Linked DNA regions of Homo sapiens: regions 1, 2, 3, 4, 5 and 6 are each linked to region 7. The links are contacts of gene promoters, found by promoter capture Hi-C in blood cells and fetal thymus (Javierre and others, 2016). All regions are on one chromosome and are shown on one strand. Each heading gives the region's core, a stretch centred on a gene start or on the middle of the fragment in contact. The rest is flanking DNA. Distances are from core to core; before and after follow the strand shown. Region 1 has its middle 85 kb from the start of RPL34-DT. Region 2 has its middle 160 kb from the start of RPL34-DT. Region 3 has its middle 8.7 kb from the start of OSTC. Region 4 overlaps RPL34-DT (RPL34 divergent transcript). Region 5 has its middle 180 kb from the start of RPL34-DT. Region 6 overlaps RPL34-DT (RPL34 divergent transcript). Region 7 holds the start of LEF1-AS1 (LEF1 antisense RNA 1).

What was found. Contacts are between HindIII fragments. The CHiCAGO score rates a contact against its expected background, and 5 or more counts as called.
Region 1: a fragment that was not itself captured here is called in contact with the fragment with the promoter of LEF1-AS1 in region 7 in 7 of 17 cell types (non-activated CD4 T cells, fetal thymus, total CD4 T cells and 4 more); the score reaches 18.9 in non-activated CD4 T cells.
Region 2: a contact is called between a fragment that was not itself captured here and the fragment with the promoter of LEF1-AS1 in region 7, in 4 of 17 cell types (non-activated CD4 T cells, total CD4 T cells, naive CD4 T cells and 1 more). The highest score is 11.2, in non-activated CD4 T cells.
Region 3: a fragment that was not itself captured here is called in contact with the fragment with the promoter of LEF1-AS1 in region 7 in 3 of 17 cell types (fetal thymus, naive CD8 T cells and activated CD4 T cells); the score reaches 13.0 in fetal thymus.
Region 4: a contact is called between a fragment that was not itself captured here and the fragment with the promoter of LEF1-AS1 in region 7, in 6 of 17 cell types (activated CD4 T cells, naive CD4 T cells, non-activated CD4 T cells and 3 more). The highest score is 11.9, in activated CD4 T cells.
Region 5: a fragment that was not itself captured here is called in contact with the fragment with the promoter of LEF1-AS1 in region 7 in 4 of 17 cell types (non-activated CD4 T cells, activated CD4 T cells, fetal thymus and 1 more); the score reaches 6.9 in non-activated CD4 T cells.
Region 6: a contact is called between a fragment that was not itself captured here and the fragment with the promoter of LEF1-AS1 in region 7, in 9 of 17 cell types (fetal thymus, activated CD4 T cells, naive CD4 T cells and 6 more). The highest score is 19.8, in fetal thymus.

What each region holds. Positions count from the first base shown.
Region 1 is chr4:108,533,597-108,536,583 of GRCh38, reverse strand. No RefSeq gene overlaps it. Among named protein-coding and RNA genes, the nearest start is that of RPL34-DT, 85 kb to the left of the region's middle. The HindIII fragment of the contact is 4,477 bases long and covers 1-2,987 here.
Region 2 is chr4:108,457,646-108,460,545 of GRCh38, reverse strand. No RefSeq gene overlaps it. Among named protein-coding and RNA genes, the nearest start is that of RPL34-DT, 160 kb to the left of the region's middle. The HindIII fragment of the contact is 5,288 bases long and covers 1-2,900 here.
Region 3 is chr4:108,640,283-108,643,589 of GRCh38, reverse strand. No RefSeq gene overlaps it. Among named protein-coding and RNA genes, the nearest start is that of OSTC, 8.7 kb to the left of the region's middle. The HindIII fragment of the contact is 8,651 bases long and covers 1-3,307 here.
Region 4 is chr4:108,551,744-108,554,629 of GRCh38, reverse strand. The region is part of intron 2 of RPL34-DT (RPL34 divergent transcript); the gene reads left to right. Among named protein-coding and RNA genes, the nearest start is that of RPL34-DT, 67 kb to the left of the region's middle. The HindIII fragment of the contact is 3,606 bases long and covers 1-2,886 here.
Region 5 is chr4:108,439,696-108,442,892 of GRCh38, reverse strand. No RefSeq gene overlaps it. Among named protein-coding and RNA genes, the nearest start is that of RPL34-DT, 180 kb to the left of the region's middle. The HindIII fragment of the contact is 2,709 bases long and covers 507-3,197 here.
Region 6 is chr4:108,588,445-108,591,547 of GRCh38, reverse strand. All of the region lies in intron 1 of RPL34-DT (RPL34 divergent transcript), which reads left to right. Among named protein-coding and RNA genes, the nearest start is that of RPL34-DT, 30 kb to the left of the region's middle. The HindIII fragment of the contact is 1,036 bases long and covers 741-1,776 here.
Region 7 is chr4:108,166,148-108,169,395 of GRCh38, reverse strand. It overlaps LEF1-AS1 (LEF1 antisense RNA 1), which reads right to left and starts at 1,871. Exons shown (of 3, transcript NR_029374.1): 1 at 1,563-1,871. It overlaps LEF1 (lymphoid enhancer binding factor 1), which reads left to right and starts at 464. Exons shown (of 12, transcript NM_016269.5): 1 at 464-1,841. The coding sequence starts at 1,629. LOC124900752 reads right to left here and starts at 1,457. Exons shown (of 2, transcript XM_047416528.1): 1 at 494-1,457; 2 at 1-286. The coding sequence starts at 896. RefSeq lists silencers at 465-514, 2,271-2,510 and enhancers at 775-864, 1,892-2,393. The HindIII fragment of the contact is 8,163 bases long and covers 1-3,248 here.

The sequences.
Region 1 (2,987 bases), core at 162-2,661, 370 kb before region 7:
ACATAAAAGCAAGGTAAAAGAAGAACACTTCATTAAAACTAAATCTACCTTCCGGTCTTAACTTTTTTTGAGTTGATATTTTTAATTAGTAAAGTATTACTAAAATTTATCTCATAAAAATTTACTTTGTAGAACATCTTTCCAAAAAACAAATAGAACATGTTCATGACAGAAGGAATAAGGTTGGAAAGGGACAGAAATACATGGAGACAGAGAAAAGCAGAGAGATTGGAAGACAAAAATAAAGCAAAGATGAGACAGAAAGAGAGAGTGAGAGGGGGAGAGAAGTTGAGAGTTTAAGAGAGATAAACTAAAGAAATCGAGTTCTGTAGAACTGGAATCTTCAAAATACAATTAAACAAACTAATTCCCCAGAGAATGGAAGTAAACAGCTCTGAAAAAGCACCAGTTTTCTCTGTTGAAATTAGTGAGAGGAGTTCTGTCCAGTTAAACAGAAAGGACTGAGCCCAACTCCATTTCACTCCCAAAAGGGTTATAAAATGAGGCTATAGAGAATAGGATGAGTCAAGAGGAACAACAGATTCTAACTTGAGCAAACCAGCACTCTCACCTAAACATGAGGGGTCGACGCAAAGGTTTTGTAAGGTGCTTTGTGGTTCTAGAATTCTATGTCTGTCAGGGTGCGTAGGGTGGCCACTGAGAAGTACAGTGATGGGCTCAGATCCAAGAGAGGGTGGAGAAGGAAGGAAGTTGGTGTTTTATTCCATGCTGAAGTTTAATTCAAATTCTAGCTTGTTTATCCTCTTTCTTCCCACTGCTCCTTTACAACAGAACCTCAGGACTAAATAACTCTCATAAAAAGAGCTGATTTTCAGGACAATATTGGGGTTTAGTTAAATAAGCAATGCAAGAAGTCAATGCTTTTTAAAGTACCACTTAATACTGTGACTGTTTAAAAGGACTTAAATTTGAACTATATAAATAACATGGATACAGTTTCTTTGTAAAAACTGAAAATATTATATGTCAGGCTAAACTCCCCTTTCACCACTACCCTTCTTTTTTTTTTTTTTTTTTTTTTTTTTTTTTTTTTTTTGGCAGGGTCTTGCGCTGTTGCCCAGGCACAATCTCGGCTCAGGGCAACCTCTACCTCCTGAGTTTGAGTGATTCTCATGCCTCAGCTTCCCGATTAGCTGGGATTACAGGTGCACACCACCATGCCAAGCTAATTTTTTTTTTTTTAATTTTTAGTAGGGACAGGTTTCACCATGTTGGCCAGGCTGGTTTTAAACTCCTGGCCTCAAGAGTTTCGCCCACCTCAGCCTCCCAAAGTGCTGGGATTACAGGCATGAGGCACTGCACCTGGCTTTCACCACTATTCTTAATCTCAAATCATCCCAACCTCTCCCAGTTTACTACATTTTCTTAACAGACCTTTTTCTAGGTAGAAACTACGTAGTATTGTTTCATGTTTGTAAGTATGTCTTTTTAATATAAACAATATATTTTTAAAAAATTTTATGTCTTAGAGATGGATCCTTATCAGTATGCAAGCTCCATCTCATTCCTTTGAACTACTTTGTAGTGTTCTGTGGCTTAGATGGATCATAGCTTATTTAGTCATTCCTCTATGATCTACAAGTGGTTTCCAAGTTATTGTTTGTTTTTTGCTACTGCAAATAAATGCTGCATCCTTGTATATGCTTCCTTGTATACCCTATGCAATTGTTTCTCTAAGGTAGAAATAATTTGGTTTTTAGCCTTTGGGTCTCCAGGTCTTATGTATGCAGCTTGAATTTAGCTACATGCCACAGAAAATTTGAAAAATGGCCCCCAAATTGGAGAGAAGAGTCACTTTTTAATCTTAGCAAAACATTGGCCCACTTTGCAGCTTCATAAAATGACTACTGTATTCATTTTCCTGTCTAGGTGAGACTATTGATTAAGAATGCTACATATGGCATCACACAGAAAAATACTATTTTAGTGCTCGTCTTGGCAGCACATATACTAGAAAAATACTATTTTAATATTCTTTCTTTTGTAGCTTGCATGTTAAAAATGTGTTTCAGGAATAAAAAATAATTTTATATTTATGTGAAAACATGTATAAACCAAGACTTTCAACATACTGCAAAGAGCCACTCTGTAAGAGTAAAGTATTTTCTTTTACTAAATGAACACTTAATCAATAACATGAAATGGGCAAGAATGAAAAGAGAATAATGTCAAAATTGAAAAGCAGCTGATAAGCTCACATCATCATTTTTGACATGTAATGTCTATACTGGCAGCTTTAGGATCAATCCAGTCACAAATCCTTTGAGCAGCTGTTTGTATGCCTTCGACTAATGAAGCTCTTTGAGTGCTCTGTTATTAATGTCATAAAGGGGGAGAGAGGATAAAGAAAGAGACAGTGGACCAAAGAAGAGACATTCTAAAAAGAGACTCCCTTTCCCCAGCCACTTGTGGAAATCCATTTCAGGTCAACTGGGACCAATTGTGAGTTCTGGCCTTGGGCAAAATTCCTATTTGCAGTCAATAAATTAATGGGTGACACCTTTAAATGGGTTAGCTTTAACTGAATCAATGTCTGATGTGGCAATCTATCCTCGGGCCAAATTCCCACTGAAGTTCATATGTTGGGCCTCACTGAAGAAATGGACAAATCCTTGAACTTTTTTTTTTTTTTTAAATCACTTCTTTAAAAAGCAGCATTCAGGCGCTGTTTTTACTTTCCTGTCCTTGCCCATCCTTTCTTTAATTGGCATGGAAGAACTCCCAATATTAATTGATTTCATTTGCACAGAACTCTACAATGTACAGAGTTCTTAGCCTGGGTGATTCTAGTTGAATCTGTTTCTTCTAAAAAAGTTGTCCATAAGGCCAAAGAGGTAACCGTTCCTTTACAGTAGCCCTTTTGAAACCTCTAGGCAGCAGGAAACAGAGAAGGGCTGCTCTGTTGGTTCAGCTGGCTTTTACAGCTGAAGATAACATGAACCACAAATCTGTCGAGGTTCATGTTT
Region 2 (2,900 bases), core at 359-2,858, 290 kb before region 7:
CATAACATAGGTAATCAATTGCTAATTTGGTTATTTTGTAAGTTTGCATTTTTTTATGATGAGATTTTTTTAAAGAGGGCACAACTGTTGTTTATATATCCAGCTGAGACACTTGAAGGGCAAATGTTATGTCTTGGTTAATTCATTATTGTTTATTATTGTTAATTTATTACTGTTTTGAAGATATTTCTACTCTATAAAACTCAGTAAAGGGCTGCTCGCCATTTATTTGGCATCATAGCTATTATAAAAATAAGTTTATCTTGGATTTTTAAGACTTTCCTTTGTGAAATATTGCCTCAAGATAAGAGGACATGCACTTAAATTAGTCGTCCCTCTAATCACCAAGTCACAGGGAGAAGGGCGGTGCAAGGAGGATATTCTTTGACCTGAATAGAGAACATTAAGGGGCAGGGAGGAGCTGGCAAGGCATTGATGTGATTAACAAACATGTTTTAAAAACTTGTTGGGATAGACAAATTCTGCCTTTCTAGGAGACATGTGAAACCCACTCCTCTAAGCATTTCCTTTGGAATTGCATCACAGGGCTTTTTATTTGCCTTCAGCTTCAGCTATTGACTCAAGAAGATGGTGGGAACTGTTGTCTTTCCTCTTGCAAATCTCATTTGGCTGCTGAGACAGGGCCATCCTTCAGGACTGGACACCTGAAGATGGGTGCAGGAAAAAGGAAACTGGAGAGTGGAGACAGGAAGGCATTTGAGATGTCAGTTTTCCTGAGGCCAGGCACTTTAGGATTAAGGAGCAGGTCCCAATTTATTTCCCCCAAGACTATGCCAGGCCACCTCATCCATCCCAAATAAGGTCCAATGGGTGCTTCCAAGTGAGTGGCTCAAACCACTTGTTTGTTTGGTTCAACTAACCCTCCATTGTCTGACAGACTGAGTAGGAGGGAGAAATCGCAGGAGAGAAGAGGAGGACGGAGATCCTTTATTTAGAAATATTTATTTTTCTTACTCAACTTTCTTGCTTGTAATGCACTGACAGTATTATTAATCACAAATGATATTGGAAGAGTAAATAAAAATAATGTTTGTGCTGGGTCGCTTGAGCTCAGGAGTTTTAGACCAGCCTGGGCAACATGGTGAAGCCCCATCTCTACCAAAAATACAAAAATATTAGCCGGGTTTGGTGGTGTGCTCCTGTAGCCCCAGCTACTCAGAGGCTGAGGTGGAAGTATCACTAGAGCCCAGGAGGTGGAGGCTGCAGTGAGCCAAGATTGCACCACTGTACTCTAGTCTGGGTGACAGAGTGAGACCCTGTCTCAAAAAAATAAAAAAATAATGTTTTCCAAAAGTCCCACAGAGGCTCTGGTCCACAGACAAGACATAATATACTGGTGTGAATCGGGACTTCACTCCTGGTGCCAGTGCTAATCCCAGGCTATAGTGGGCAGGGGCAGGTCTAGAGGATGGCGGAAAGGCATGATCACTTGCAAATGCACTAATTCCAACAGCCACATGATGATCCTATGTCCACCTTGGCCATTCTTATTGAATCTACTGTGCTAGTTATTAAGCTATCACCTCTCAGCTTTAAACCCATCCTTCTACACTCCATGCTGGGACTCAGGAAACTACATTTTTCCTTTGTCAGCTCGTTCTCTGTTAGATTTTGCCAATAGGGAGTAATAGAGGAAGACTGAAAGGCAGAAAGGGGAAGCATGGTGGAGCAATTTGTTCCTATCTCCAGCTTGTACTTGCACTCCCAGAACCAGTCTCAGTTTCAATGTGGTTTCATACTGCTATGGTTTCAATGTGTCTCCCAAAGTTCACAGGGGCTGGAAATTTGATTCTCAGTGCAGCCGTGTTGAGAGGTGGGACCCTTAAGGGGGGATTAGGCCATGAGGGCTCTGCTCTCATAAATCAATTAATGTCATTATTGCCAGGATGGATTAGTTATTGTGGGAATGAGTTCCTGATAAAGGATGACTTTGGCCCCCTTCCTCTCTGGCAAATGTGCTCTCTTGCCCTTTCACCTCCTGCCATGGGACGACATAGCAAGATGGCCTTTGCCAGATGTGAGATCCTAAACCTTGGACTTCCCAGCCTTCATAACTATAAGAAATAAATATATTTTCTTTATAAATGTACCCAGTCTGTGGTATTCTGTTATAGCAACACAAAACAGACTAAGATAGTCTCCCACCACTCCCATCAGAGATGTCAGCACCAGCCCGGTGGTTCTCCTTCTCAGAGGTATGAGTCCCAGCTCCATGTGCTTATCCCTTCAAGTTTCTAGGTTATGATAACACCAACATCTTCCCTGTGTTTTTCTAACCTTAGAGGTGGTGGATAATTTTCACACTTAATATTGCTGCATTATTTTTGACTTTTTTATTCTCAAGCACCTATTCTCTATTTTCTCACATTTTACCATAAAGTTTAGAGCACTATACACATGGTGCTGCACCTTGCATTTTTCATGTCGCAATACGTCTTACAGAGATGTGTGCATAGAGTTCTTCACAATTCTTTACATTAACCGATAATATTCCTTTAGGCTGAAGTACCATAATTTATTTAACTAGTCCGCTATTGGTGGAGGTTTTGCTTACTTCAATATTTTTCCAATTGAGAAAAAATGTCTTAATGAATGACATAGCAGAATTCAGAATTATATATACCATACATCATTTTGCATATGTGCAAATGTCTCAGTTCATTTTGTGCTGCTGTAACAGAACACCCAAGACTAGGTAATTAAAAAAGAACAGGAATTTATTTCTCACAGTTCTCAAGGCTGGTAAGTACAAGGTCAAGGCACCAGCATCTGGTGAGGACCTTATTTCCATGCCTCAAATGGTAGAAGGCAGAGGGCAAGAGAGAAACAACTCCCTCTGCCAAACACCTTTATAATGGCACCTAATTCCATTCATAGGG
Region 3 (3,307 bases), core at 394-2,893, 470 kb before region 7:
AAATTAAGCTAGGCTGAGTGCGGTGGCTCATGCCTGTAATCCCAGCACTTTGGGAGGCCAAGGTGGGCAGATCATTTGAGGTCAGGAGTTCAAGACCAGCCTGGCCAACAAAGTGAAATCCCGTCTCTACTAAAAATACAAAAATTAGCTGGGCATGGTGGCCCACACCCGTAATCCCAGCTACTCGGGAGGCTGAGGCAGAAGAACTGCTTGAACCCAGGAGATGGAGGTTGCAGTGAGCCAAGATTGTTCCACTGCACTCCAGCCTATGCAACAGAGTGAGCTCCTTCTCAAAAAAAAAAAAAAAAAAATCAAGCCAAATGTGGTTCAGAAAGGTATATATAGATATTTAGTTGACAAGGAATCAACTGTGGTGGATTTGTATTGTGTTAACTTAGCTAAGCTGAACTACATCTCCCAGAATCCCTTCATTGCAGAGCTCTAAATTAGTATGGGCCATAAGAGACATCATTATTTTTAAGAAACATATTGTCTAACTAGTGAAGTAACTTTCCAACTGATCTTCAGTTATTTCTGAAACATTAAAAATACCCAATTAAAAATAGTGGACTAATTAAAAAAAATTGTAAAGCATTCATACCATGTAATATTATACAGCTATTAAAAAGCACACTGTGGAAATTTATTTTCTGGAATGGACAGATGTCCAAAATAGCTGTTTTTTTCTGAGACAGAGTCTCACTCTGTCACTCAGGGTAGAGCGCAGTGGTGCAGTCATGGCTCACTGCATTCTTGACCTCCTGGGCTCAAGCAATCCTCCTGCCTCAGCCTCCCGAGTAGCTGCGACTACAGGCACACGCCACCTTACCTGGCTAATTTTTGTGTTTTTTTATTGTAGAGATAGGGTTTCACTATGCTGCTTAGGCTGGTCTCGAACTCCTGGGCTCAAGAAATCCACCCACCTTGGTCTCCCAAAGTGCTGGGATTACAGGCATGAGCCACCATGCCCGGCCTCCACAATAGGCTTAAAATGAAGAAAATCAGACCATAAAATTGTATGTAGAGTACTGGCTTATTTGTTATTGTATGTATTTTCCACTGGAAAAAAGTCTGAAGGAACATAAAGATGACTGTGTCTATGTGATGTGATTATAGATTATTTTTCCCTTCTTTGAAACTACTTGTATTTCCTAATTTTTCTGTAATAAGCATATATTACTTTTGTAATTAAAATAAACTTTTATAATAGTACTTTGTAAGAACACAAAGTACTTTCTGGTCTTACATCAGCACATCTGTCTCTCTACCCAGGTGTCCACTGCTGTATTCTGTAAGAGATGCATAATAATGCTTCTCATATTTGCTTACATTCAAGTAGGAGTGATTGGATGTTTATTACTATGTACCATTACACAGCCAATTGTAATATCAGAAACTCAGTGTCTCAAATTCAGGGACAAAATATTTTTCACCATGGAATTCCTACCACCTCTCACAGTGCTGGCACATAGTAGGACTCATTAAATAAGTTGAATGAATCAATAAATGAACCCGATTCTTCCATTTCCTTTGATCCTTCAAGGTGTCATCTTAGCAATTGTACTTCCTTAATGTTTATTTAGTTTGTTCCCTCCTTTCTACCTCCACCACCACTTATTAATTCAGATCCACATGATGTCCTGCCTCTATTTCTCTCTACATTGCAGCCAGGGTGCATTGTTTAAGAAACTGAACAAATCTCATTATGCCAATCAAGATGCTGTCTTTACTGCTAGCTAGAGAGAAGTAAGTAGCTAAACAGGAAGTAAAATTTGGTTCTTTTTATTCACTACTGCCTTCTTTGCTATGTTACAACTCCTTTCCATATTTTAATACTTGTTTTGTGGAAATACGCCTAATCTCACACACTTCCCTCCGTTTCCTTGCCAAGATGGGAATCAATGACAGCAGGCAGGGCCGGGCACGGTGGCTCATGCCTGTAATCCCAGCACATTGGGTGGTGGAGGCCAGTGGATAACCTGAGGTCAAGACTTCGAGACCAGCCTGGCCAACATGGCAAAACTCCATCTCACTAAAAATACAAAATTAGCTGAGCGTCGTAGTAGGCATCTGTAATCCAAGCTACTCGGGAAGCTGAGGCACGAGAATCACTTGAACCCAGGAGGTGCAGGCTGCCGTGAACTGAGATTTCGCCACTGCATTCCAGCCTGGGCAACAGAGACTCTGTCTCAAAAACAAACAAACAAAAAGACAGTAGGCAGTAGTGTTGTTGATGACAACGTTCATCACTCATTCATTCATTCATCAAGCATTTATGGATCATGTAGCAGAAACAAGCTGTCTTAAATGCTGTCAGTGCCAAGATAACCAGTGCATAACTCTTATCCCCAAGAAACTGTTATCCTAGTCTGAGGAGAATACACGCTATGGCAGAACTGCCTGAGAAGCACATGCCTATTGGAGGTTTGGGCCAATTGGGCTTTGAGAGACCTGAGGAAATAGTGATTAATTATCACAGGTAGGCAGTGCACAGTGGCTCACGCCTGTAATCACAGCATTTTGAGAGGCCGAGGCAGGTGGATCACTTGAGGTCAGGAATAGGAGGTCAGGAACGGCCTGGCCAACATAGTGAAACCCCGCCTCTACTAAAAATACAAAAATTAGCTGGGCATGCTGGCGCATGTGTGTAATCCCAGTTACTTGGAGGCTGAGGCAGGAGAATCGCTTGAACCCAGGAGGCAGAGGTTGCAGTGAGCCGAGATCGCACCATTGCACTCCAGCCTGGACGACACAGCAAGACTCTCTCTCAAAAAAAAAAAAAAAAAATTCTCAAACAGGTAGGGAAAAGGCAGGCTTACAGAAGTGCTCACATTTGAGCAGGAGCATTGATAGAAGAGCTGGATTCCTCGGTTGGGAAAAGGCTTTCAGGCATTCGGACAAGGCTGAGCAAAGGCAGAGAGATGGGAAAGCCCCAAAGGTGGTAACAGAGTGATGGTGATCATGGAGGAGTAAAAGTGGAGATGCGACCTAAAAAAGAAGAAGCCTGACTAGACAGGGTCTTTCAAAGTCATGATGCTTTTAGATTTCATTATATAGGCATAAAGAAGTATTGAAGGATTTTAAAACTTGAAATGATTAGTATTGTGTTTGGAAGAATAGATGGGATGACAGAAAGACTTGAGGCAGAGAAACCTTTTAGGACCTTAGTGTGGAAGTCCAGATGAGAGACAGCGAGGGGCTGAGACAGACTGTGAGTGAGGAGAGCAGGGAAGGTGGTGGTAAAGCAAAAGCTATAAAATACCTTTTTTTTTTTTTCTTTTCTGTGAGCCTGTGTCTCACTCTGTCG
Region 4 (2,886 bases), core at 15-2,514, 390 kb before region 7:
ACAACATGTGCCCAAGGTGGCAGGGTACAGCTTGCTTTTATACATTTTAGGGGGACATAATAATACATCAATCAATAGATGTAAGATTTACAGCGGTTCAATCTAAAAAGGCAGGACAACTTGAAGTGGGGACTTCCAGGTCATAGGTAGATTTAAAAATTTTCTGATTGCCAATTGATTGAAAGAGTTTTTATCAGTAGAAAACAAAGTCTGGGTTGTGATAAGTGGTTGTGCAGTCCAAGGTTTTATCATGCAGTCGAAGCCTCCAGGTAGCAAGTTTCAAAGAGAATACATTGCAAATGTTTCTTATCAGACTTAGGGTTTGTGTTGATGTTAAATGCTGGTCAGCTTTTCCTGAATTCCAAAAGGGAGGACGGCATAATGAGGCATGTCCAATCCGCCATTCCCGTCATGGCCTGAACCAGTCTTTCAGGTTATCTTAGGAGTGCCCTGGCCAAGAGGAGGGAGTCCATTCAAATGGTTGCGGGGGTCATAGAATTTTATTTTTGGTTTACAGAAATAATCTGTAAAAATGTATTAAAAATAACAAAGCAAACAGTTTGCATTTGTTTTTAAAAGATAGTCATGCCTTGTGGCATGTAATACTTGTAATCCCAACACTTAGGGAGGCCAAGGTGGGAGGAACACTTGAGGACAGGAGTTCAAGACCAGCCTGGGCAACATACTGAGATCTCATCTCCAAAAATAACAGAAATAAAAAAAAAAATTAGCCAGGCATAGCAGCATGCACCTGTAATCCCACCTCCTCAGGAGGCTGAGGTGGGAAGATCTCTTAAGCCTAGGAGTTTAAGGTTACGGTGAGCTATGATGGCACCACTGCACTCCAGCCTGGATGACAGACAAGAAAGAAAGAACAAAAGAAAGAAAGGATGAACAAAAGAAAGAAGTGGGGAAGGAAGGAAGGAAAGAAAGGAAGGGAAGGAAATAGTTCATTTGACAAAGACTCCCTTATTGAGCAAATGTAGTCAGGCTCCTCTGAGCCCTCCTTTGACTAGACTTTCTCTTTGGCCCAATCTTTGGCTTGCCAAGTCTAGTTTTAGCTTTGGATACTGCTTAGCCAGTTTATAGAGAATCCCACCACCTTTGATATCTAATCAAGCTCTCCTCCCTACCCTTGATGTCTAATCAAGTTCTTCTCCCCCAATGTTGTTGATACCTAACCAAGTCCCTCTTTAGTATGTTTCTATCCAATGACTCCCTCATCATGCCCCTTGAATATATATTCCCACTTATCCCTGTTGTATTTATTTATTGATTGATTTTTGAGGTAGGGTCTCACTCTTGTCACTTAGGTTGTTATCCCTGTTGTATTTAGAATTGAGTTCAATCTCTCTCCTCTATTGCAATAGTCTTGAGTAAAGTCTTCCTTGCCATTTTTAACAAGTGTCTAGTGCAAAATTTCTCTTCAATGTGTTGATTCTATGCACCTCTTTTTCATTTTTAAATTATCATTAATTCTCCCCCGATCCCCCACAGTATAAATCTTCTCTTCTCACTATGTTCTGACACATTAATTATTTAAGCAAGGTTATTATTATTTTAAAAATCATAGACATCTATCTATTCCTTGATCTCTGTTCTTAGAGCGGCTTCACAGTTGTAATCCTGATATCTCTTTCACATTGCATTTTGGGGATTCTTTTTGCCTTTCTCTTATGTAGGATTCCCCTATTTAGTTCCGCTGTCTTCTTCTTTTTAATTTTTTTAAACAAATTTTTGGGATACATGTGAAATTTTGTTACATGTATGTAATGCACAGTGATCAAGTTGGGGTATTTAGGATGTCCATCACCTGAGTACAACACATTTTTTGTTAACTATAGTCACCCTACTCTGCTATCAAACATTGCATTTATCTCTTCTATCTAATTGCATGTTTGTACTCTTTAACCTATTTCTTTTCATTCTTTCTCCTTCCCCCAGTCACCTTTCCCAATCTCCATTATCTCTTTCCACTCTACCTCTAGGTGATCAAATTTTTTAGCTTCCACATGTAAGTAAGTACATACAATATTTATCTTTTTATGCCTGGCTTACTTCACTTAATATAATGATCATTCATGTTGCTGCAAATGACATGATTTCATTCTTTTTTTATGGCCAAATGGTATTCCACTGTGTATATTTACCACATTTTCTCTACCTATTCATCCATTGATGGGTATTTAAGTTTGTTTCATGTATTTGCTATTGTGAATAGTGCTGCAATAAAAATGCAAATGCTTTGTATCCCTTTGATCTATTGGTTTCTTTTGGATAGATACTTGGTAGTGGGGCTGCTGGATTGAATTCTGTTTTTAGTTTTTTGAGAAATCTCCATACTGTTTTTCATAGTGGCTGCACCAGTTTACATTCCCAGCAACAGAGTATACAACTTCCTTTTTCTCCACATCCTCACCAACATCCATTTTTTTTTTGTCTTTTTAATAATAGCCGTTCTGACTGGGGTGAGATGATGTCTCATTGTGGTTTTGATTTGCATTTCTCTGATGGATTAGTGATGTTGAGCATTTGAGCATTTTTTCATATACCTGTTGGCCATTTGTAGGTTGTCTTTTGAGAAATATCTATTCATGTGCTTTCCCCCACTTTTTTTTTTTGAGACTGAGTCTCGCTCTGTCACCAGGCTGGAGTGCAGTGGTGAGATCTTGGCTCACGGCAACCTCCGCCTCTCGGGTTCAAGCAATTATCCTGCCTCAGCCTCCCGAGTAGTTGGGACTACAGGCGCACCACCACACCCAGCTAGTTTTTGTATTTTTAGTAGATGGGGTTTCAGCATGTTGGCCAGGATGGTCTCTATCTCTTGACCTCGTGATCTGCCTGCCTTGGCCTCCCAAAGTGCTGCGATTGCAGGCATGAGCCACT
Region 5 (3,197 bases), core at 612-3,111, 270 kb before region 7:
AACATATAGATTGAGACATTTTGTTTAATGGCAAGGGAAGGAAACCCCATACAAAAACTTCAATCTACAGCTGAAAATGTAGGCTGGGAAGAGAGGTCTTTCTGCCTTACTAGTAAGAACAACTCTAGAAAGCCCAAAGGCAACTGCCAAGCCCGTGTTTGGAGCATGGCAGAACTTGTGAAAGACACAAAAGCCAGTGAGTGGCTGAAAGCACTGACCGACTCCTCAGATGGGGAGAGACGGTTGGCTCCTGGGAGAGAAAAGCAACTACAGCTGCTCTCCACCACAGACATACAAAGATAAACAAGATTGTTTTCCTTTTAAGTGCAACTTATTTGCTTTAAATATAGGTACACCTGAATCCAAACTGCAAGATGATATGTATAAATCCTATTCCTTCTTTTACCATTTCCACAGTCAGAACAGTTTGTAGTCTCGTAGTTGGGATTTGATTTACACAAATATAATTATCACTGCAGCACACTAGTATTTTGAGAATTAAAGCTTTAACACTGCCATACAAAAGATTGCATGGTAAGTTATTCTAAGCACCACAATTTTGGTCATTGTAAATTCAACTCTGACGGGTTTATAGGATTGAGCACTCCATATACATTATTTGTGCCTCATTCTTTTCCCCATTGCCTCAAGCATTTGGACACTTTTCTAAAGTCATACTTTGATGCCAAGTGGTACCATTGAAATGATCTGGCCTAACCTTGTCTTTTGAAGACCAAGATACAAAGGCTCAAACAGATGATATGACTTGCTCTGGGTCATACAGGCTTTTTTTTTTTTTTTTTTTTTTTTTGGGATGGAGTCTCACTCTGTTGCCTAGGCTGGAGTGCAGTGGTGCGATCTCAGCTCACTGCAATCTCCACCTCCTGGGTTCAAGTGATTCTCCTGTCTCAGCTTCCTGAGTAGCTGGGACTACAGGTGTGTGCCACCACGCCTGGCTAATTTTTGTATTTTTAGTAGTGATGGGGTTTCACTATGTTGGTCAGGATGGTCTTCAACTCCTGACCTCAGGTGATCCACCTGCCTCAGCCTCCCAGCATACAAGCTATTAATGGCAGAGCCAGTGCTAGAAGCTGTGTCTCTAGAATGCCAGCTTCTGACTCAAACTCCTGCTCTTCGAGCTTCTATGCAGAAAATGGCCATCGTAAGAGGGGTTTACAAGAGGAGGTGAAAAGGACAATCACCCTAACCCAAATTGACCAGAATAGAGTTGAGTGAGCAGGTCAAAATTGTGGCAAGATAAAAACAAATAACGATTATTTGAGTGAAAATTACCAGGGATTGGGGGGGTGGAGCCAAGATGGCTGAAAAGGAACAGCTCCAGTCTACAGCTCCCAGTGTGAATGATGCAGAAGACAAATGATTTCTGCATTTCCAACTGAGGTACCAGGTTCATCTCACTGGGGAGTGTCAGACAGTGGGTGCAGGACAGTGGGTGCAGCACACTGAGCATGAGCCGAAGCAGGGCAAGGCAGCACCTCACCTGGGAAGTGCAAGGGGTCAGGGAATTCCCTTTCCTTGCCAAGGAAAGGGGTGACAGAAGGCACCTCAAAAATCAGGTCACTCCCACCCTAATACTGTGCTTTTCCAATGGTCTTAGCAAATGGCACACCAGGAGATTGTATCCTGCGCCTGGCTCAGAGGGTCCTACGCCCATGGAGCCTCGCTCATTGCTAGCACTGATCAATGCTAGCAATCTGATCAGCAGTCTCAGATCAAACTACAAGATGGCAGCGAGGCTGGGGGAGGGGCACCTGCCATTGCCAAGGCTTGAGTAGGTAAACAAAGCAGCCGGGAAGCTCAAACTGGGTGGAGCCCACCGCAGCTCAAGGAGGCCTGCCTGCCTCTGTAGACTCCACCTCTGTGGGCAGGGCATAGCCAAACAAAAGGCAGCAGAAACCTCTGCAGACTTAAATGTCCCTGTCTGACAGCTTTGAAGAGAGTAGTAGTTCTCCCAGCACACAGCTTGAGATCTGAGAACGGACAGACTGCCTCCTCAAGTAGGTCCCCAACCCCCGAGTAGCCTAACTGGGAGGCACCCCCCAGTAGGGGCAGACTGACACCTCACACAGCCGGGTACTCCTCTGAGACAAAACTTCCAGAGGAACAATCAGGCAGCAACATTTGCTGTTCACCAATATCCGTTGTTCTGCAGCCTCTGCTGCTGATACCCAGGCAAACAGGGTCTGGAGTGGACCTCCAGCAAAATTCAACAGACCTGCAGCTGAGAGTCCTGACTGTTAGAAGGAAAACTAACAAACAGAAAGGACATCCACACCAAAACCACATCTGTAAGTCACCATCATCAAAGACCAAAAGTAGATAAAACCACAAAGATGGGGAGAAAACAGAGCAGGAAAACTGAAAATTCTAAAAATCAGAGCACCTCTCCTCCTCCAAAGGAATGCACCTCCTCACCAGCAATGGAACAAAGCTGGACGGAGAATGACTTTGACGAGTTGCAAGAAGAAGGCTTCAGACGGTCAAACTACTCGGAGCTAAAGGAGGAAGTTCAAACCCATGGCAAAGAAGTTAAAAACCTTGAAAAAAGATTAGATGAATGGCTAGCTAGAATAACCAATGCAGAGAAGTCCTTAAAGGGCCTGATGGAGCTGAAAACCATGGCACGAGAACCATGTGATGAATGCACAAGCCTCAGTAGCCAATTCAATCAACTGGAAGAAAGGGTATCAGTGATGGAAGATCAAATGAATGAAATGAAGGAGAAGAGAAGTTTAGAGAAAAAAGAATAAAAAGAAACGAACAAAGCCTCCAAGATATATGGGACTATGTGAAAAGACCAAATCTACGTCTCATTGGTGTACCTGAAAGTGACGGGGAGAATGGAACCAAATTGGAAAACACTCTGCAGGATATTATCCAGGGGAACTCCCCCAATCTAGCAAGGCAGGCCAACATTCAGATTCAGGAAATACAGAGAATGCCACAAAAATACTCCTCGAGAAGAGCAACTCCAAGACACTTAATTGTCAGATTCACCAAAGTTGAAATGAAGGAAAAAATGTTAAGGGCAGCCAGAGAGAAAGGTCGGGTTACCCACAAAGGGAAGCCCATCAGACTAACAGCAGATCTCTTGGCAGAAACTCTACAAGCCAGAAGAGAGTGGGGGCCAATATTCAACATTCTTAAAGAAAAGAATTTTTAACCCAGAATTTCAT
Region 6 (3,103 bases), core at 9-2,508, 420 kb before region 7:
TGGGATTACAGGCGCCCACCACCATGCCTGGCTAATTTATGTATTTTTAGTAGAAACGGGGTTTCACCATGTTGGCCAGCACCTGATCTCAAGTGATCTGCCCTCCTCAGCCTCCCGAAGTGCTGGGATTAGAGGCGTGAGCCACCGTGCCCGGCCTTTTTTTTTTTTTTTCCAGTTTTTTCTTTGTTTTTTAGTTTCTCCTTTTTTTTGTTTTTGTGTTTTTTTCATGTGAGTTGTACCTTTTCAAGAAAATCACTTTACTCAAGTTTTATGGAATTTTGTAGAGCAGCAAAATTAGATGTGTGGTTTAGTCTACCATCTTAACCCAGAAAACCATTTAGATCTACTTTTGCTCCTTTTTTAAAAATGAATGAAGTAGAAGTTTCAGGATACTGAGATAAAGACCAAAGCGTTCTTCTGTCTCCTTTATTTTCTCTCCATGACAATGTGAAACCATATTTAGATCAAACAAGTGTTCATTTAAGCCCTGTGCTTTTGAGAAAAATAGTTTTGAAAGTTTGAGCAATCTGAGCAAACTTGGCCCTTGGAGCTGACCCAAAGGAGTTTTCTACAAACCATGACCAAACTTTGTGGACACAGAGGCTGGTTGCTTAAAGAACAGACCTCTCCTAGGTCAGAAATGATAGGTTCCACTGAGAGCAAATTCAAACAACACTGTTTCATTTGAAGGAATTTCAATATCTAGGTTTTTCTCTAATAAATACATTAAACAACAAGCTTAATTTTTCTTGTGTTACTTATTACACAATTACAGATGTTACTTACTGAAATATGGATAAATTGTCTTTTAGGAAATGTTGACTGAGGACTAAGTATGAAGTACAATAAATAGAAAGTCAGAAAATACTAATCCCATTCATTTCCTATTTAAAAATGAGAAAAATGAATTATTAATTGTATTGTAAGAGTTATGGATACTTCAGGACTATAAACTGGGAATTTTGCCAAGTGTTGCTCAGACCAACCTTGATTAACATTCATTCACCATTCATTCATTTATTCATTCATTCACTCAAACATGTTTCTTGATCCCCCATATATGCAAGGCTCTGAACTAGTTACTGGACCTCTACCCGTGAACAAGGCAGACCCTGCCTTCTTGGAACTTGTGCTCTGGCAGAACGGACAAGCATGAAACAAGTAATTGCAACATGATTTACTGTGGTAAGAATATAAGAGAGGAGTGCTTGCCTTAATCTCAGGTGTAATGTTTGAGTTGAGATCTGAGAGAGGAGTAGATGTTAATTAGGCAAAGAGCAGGCATAGAATAGGGGGCCTGGAAATCTACCAGATCTAAGTCACAGAACAGTCAGTGTAAATACCCAGAGACATTCCTTGAGACACAGAGGGGCACAGACACAGCAAGAGAACTGGGCAGGAGGCAAAGTCCACATCATGATTAGCTGTAATGCTTCCTCAGGAAGACAAGAACTCCTCACAGCAGAAACACAGGGCAGAGAAATTTTTCTGCCCAACAGTTTGAACGGTCACCCTGCTTCAACATGACAAAACAAGCCAACGAAAATATTTTACTCAGGACAAGTTTTCAAAAAGCATAAATGCATTTTTTAATGGTTTAGACTTTTATTTGAATACAAAATGAAGTCTCTTACTGGTGAATAAGAACAGCATCTATTAAGAGTACCCAAATACCATCTATTATGTTATTTGCTAATGTATTTATACCACTCCCGCAAGCTGGTGTTTCTGTTTTGTTTTGTTTTAATCACAATTCAGTGTTAAAAAGATAAAGCTTTTTAAACATTCACTGTTGCTCAAAAGCTGAGTGCATGTGCTGTCTCAGATCATGAGGTTAGTGGTGCTTATTTCAATATTAAATAAAAGGATTCATTTTCATTGAAGCAAGCAGGGAATTAAGCTTACAACTTCAATTACCAATAATTAATTCTCCACACTGCAAGCCATGCAGTTTGCGTTTAAACTCCCAATGCCCCAAGGATAACAAAAATCTATTTTGATCACTTTTTATTTTCATCATTTAAAGAGTACATCTTATTTTAATTAGGCACATACATTTCCAGATTATAAGAGAGAACAAATATCCCTTCTAAAAAAAAAAACAGGGAATTGTGGGGAGTGGGGGACAGAGGACTTTTAAGCATGACAAAGAAATTTCTGAGATATTTTCTTTCTCTTGCTTTTATTGAAAGAGCACCTAATATTGTCGAGAATTAGCTACCTCATATCCATGAAGCTATTATTTACAGGCAGATGAATAATTTCTCTAAATTCATTTTTCCTTATGCATTAAGCTATTCTTTGCTGGCTTTTCATTATTTAAGAGAAAGAAAGCAATTGAGCACATGATTTTAAATGAGGCAAAATTAAGTCCTGCTCCAAAGCCAACCCCACCAACTCTGGAAGCAGGCATAAGGATGAGAAGGACTCTTCAGAGAGGGAGGCTTGACCTAGTGGTGGGTAAGGGAGACTGAGCTCATCAGGATCTTCCTTATTCTTTTGACAAATTCTGAGCAACAGAAAGGAACCGCCAGGGTGTCACCAAAGCAAAGACACAATCAGAGCTGGAGTTCTTAGAGATAAAAAGTGATGCTTGGAATTAGGTTTCATCAGAAAGAGGCAGACCTGTGTGGCATCCAGAAAATAAGTTCTAAGAAGACTCTTCTTTCAAGTTTTAAAGACATTAGGTTTCTTCCAGCCTGTAAGTGCTAACTTTGCCCCAAATAAATCTCATAATTCATAATACAATTGACCATGTTACAGTAAAATCTCATTTAAGTGGAACTTAATTAAATGAAACCATAAATTAACTAGAATTAGCTTCTATACTTGGCTTTCAGGAAAAATAGGGGAATCATAAAAAAAATGCAGTATAAGTCATTTAATAAAAAGTAATAGTTACAAAGGCAAGTTCTAAGGTCAGTGCACCTTCATCCCAGTCTTCAACCCACAGCTGAACAATGTCCAAACATATCCAGAATCTTGATCTTAGTACCCTACAAGATCTTTAATATAGGCAATAATATACTTTCTTTGTTTGTTTGTTTTTGATGTTTTTTTGAGATGGAGTCTCCCTCTGTTCCCCAGGCTGGAATGCAGTGGT
Region 7 (3,248 bases), core at 622-3,121:
CAGAGCCAGGGAGGGAGAGTGGGAGGCGTCAAGGAGGTAGGGGAGAGACTGGCAGAGGAAAAGGAGTGGGTGGGTGGGGGCCAAGTAAATAGATACTTAGATGATGAAGTCAAGCCACTGCGGCAATGTTTCTTGTCAGTTTCACGCGGGCAAAGCGTGCCTTTCGGTGGGTTATAAGCAGCGCCCGGTCCTTCCTTCTCTCGCCAAGTTGCCTGATCCTTCCCTCCAGGCGCGCGCGCACACACCACACTCACACACCCCAAAACCAAGACTCGTCCTACAGGATCTGGGAAAAGAAAAAGAAAAAAAAGCCCTCAATCACCACCTCCTTCTCGCCGACTCCCCCTCACCCCCCGCCTCCCCTCCAGCGGGCAGCCAAGGAGAGCTAGAGGCGGGGGAGGGGAGAGGGAGGAGAAGCGACGCAAGTGGGTAGCTTTTCAGCGCCGGCGAGGCGCGGGAGGAGGAGAAGCAGTGGGGAGGCGCAGCCGCTCACCTGCGGGGCAGGGCGCGGAGGAGGGACCCGGGCTGCGCGCTCTCGGGCCGAGGAACCAGGACGCGCCCGGAGCCTCGCACGCGGCCAAGCTCGGGGCGTCCCCTCCCCTCGGCCGGGCGAACTCAAGGGGCGCAGCTCTTTGCTTTGACAGAGCTGGCCGGCGGAGGCGTGCAGAGCGGCGAGCCGGCGAGCCAGGCTGAGAAACTCGAGCCGGGAACAAAGAGGGGTCGGACTGAGTGTGTGTGTCGGCTCGAGCTCCGGGCAGAGGCATTTGGGCCCGAGGCCCCCGCTGTGACTCCCCGAGACTCCGCAGTGCCCTCCACTGCGGAGTCCCCGCGCTTGCCGGCAAAAACTTTATTCTTGGCAAACTTCTCTTTCTCTTCCCCTCCTCCTCGGCCCCCATCTTCTGCTCCTCCTCCTTCTCTAGCAGATTAAATGAGCCTCGAGAAGAAAAACCGAAGCGAAAGGGAAGAAAATAAGAAGATCTAAAACGGACATCTCCAGCGTGGGTGGCTCCTTTTTCTTTTTCTTTTTTTCCCACCCTTCAGGAAGTGGACGTTTCGTTATCTTCTGATCCTTGCACCTTCTTTTGGGGCAAACGGGGCCCTTCTGCCCAGATCCCCTCTCTTTTCTCGGAAAACAAACTACTAAGTCGGCATCCGGGGTAACTACAGTGGAGAGGGTTTCCGCGGAGACGCGCCGCCGGACCCTCCTCTGCACTTTGGGGAGGCGTGCTCCCTCCAGAACCGGCGTTCTCCGCGCGCAAATCCCGGCGACGCGGGGTCGCGGGGTGGCCGCCGGGGCAGCCTCGTCTAGCGCGCGCCGCGCAGACGCCCCCGGAGTCGCCAGCTACCGCAGCCCTCGCCGCCCAGTGCCCTTCGGCCTCGGGGGCGGGCGCCTGCGTCGGTCTCCGCGAAGCGGGAAAGCGCGGCGGCCGCCGGGATTCGGGCGCCGCGGCAGCTGCTCCGGCTGCCGGCCGGCGGCCCCGCGCTCGCCCGCCCCGCTTCCGCCCGCTGTCCTGCTGCACGAACCCTTCCAACTCTCCTTTCCTCCCCCACCCTTGAGTTACCCCTCTGTCTTTCCTGCTGTTGCGCGGGTGCTCCCACAGCGGAGCGGAGATTACAGAGCCGCCGGGATGCCCCAACTCTCCGGAGGAGGTGGCGGCGGCGGGGGGGACCCGGAACTCTGCGCCACGGACGAGATGATCCCCTTCAAGGACGAGGGCGATCCTCAGAAGGAAAAGATCTTCGCCGAGATCAGTCATCCCGAAGAGGAAGGCGATTTAGCTGACATCAAGTCTTCCTTGGTGAACGAGTCTGAAATCATCCCGGCCAGCAACGGACACGAGGTGAGCGGGCCGCTGCCCCAGTTCCGAGAGGCGTGGCGGGTCCCTGGGAAACTCAGAGAGGGAGGAAGGGAACGAAGGCGCCCGGCCGCCCGGCTGAGGGTCCCGAGTAGATCCCTCGTTTGTTTTGGGGTGTGTGCGTAGCTGGGCCCCCGGTCCGCAGTGTGTGTGTGTGTGTGTGTGTGTGTGTGTGTGTGTGTGTGTGTAGGATGGGAGGTAGAGGGGCAGGGTAACTTATTCCAAATGGATCAGTTTAGGGGGTTCGGTGGCTGAACGGTTGGTTCGCGGGCAGGAACCCACAATGTTTCGCCTTCGGTCTTTTTGTTGGGCTGAGGGGTGCCGTGCTTTAAAGCGAGTAGGGCTGAATAACGCTACTGATAAATTCTTCCGTGGGACGGAAAACAAAGTGCACACGCTATCTCTTGGTAGATGTCTCTGCAAAAGTGCGTTAAACCACCAAAGGCTTAGGTGGAGACGAGCAGAGCCACAGGCGGGAGGAAGGGGAGGCGGGCGTGGGCTGGGGCAGGCGGGGCCGTCCCTACCACCGGTGAGCCGGGCCGCGGGGAGCAGGCCGGCCGATGGGGCGCGCACCCGGGCTGCGGGGGCGGTGCGGGGTTCAGTCCCTGCGGCCCCAGCGCCTGGGCTAGCAGCTGGGAGCTGTGGGTGCGCCGAGCCGACCCACCGCAAGGGTACACCCTGGCTGTACCGCCCCCAACTCTAGTTTTCTCCAACCGCCATCACTTGGAAACAAACCCACAACTTTTATTTGGGGTTTGGGACCGGATCAGGCCTTAAATCTACGCAGAAGAAAGGCGGAGAAGCAGCGGAAGCCGGGCACTAGTCCTGCAGGGTGGAAGGCGCTTTATCGGGTCTTCTGGCCCGCTGCGGGCGATAGAGCTGGTAACCTGAGTAGAGTAAATAGAGACACGTGGGTGCTGGCTAGAGAAAGCGCGGAGCAGGGCCGCGCTGGAGGGCTGTTTGAAGCCTAGTCCAGAGCTGGTCTAGGGGGCGGATGGACCCTGATACCCGACACTCCACTGGTCACCCTTGTTCCACAACTGGGAAACCCTCTGGAGGAAATCCGGTAGAAAAGTCCTGACACCCGAATGATTTAACCAACGCCTTTTCCCTCCAAAGAAACTTGGAGGATATACCTTTTTTTCCTTAAATGGCATCTTTCTACCCCCAAAAAGAAAGTGTGTGGTTTTGAGGGCGGGGACATTTTGGGTTTTAAACAGCGCGTTTAAGAACACCTCAGATCTGCCTTCTCTATCCCAATGGCAGAGGTGAGTACGAATTTTGAAAGGCTGGGGGCCTGCGTTCAGAGAACAGAATGGTGTTCTTTACCCGTTGAATCCAGTTTGAGCGGGCTGGGGGCGGGGGTAGGGTGCACCTAACCCCGCGTAAAAG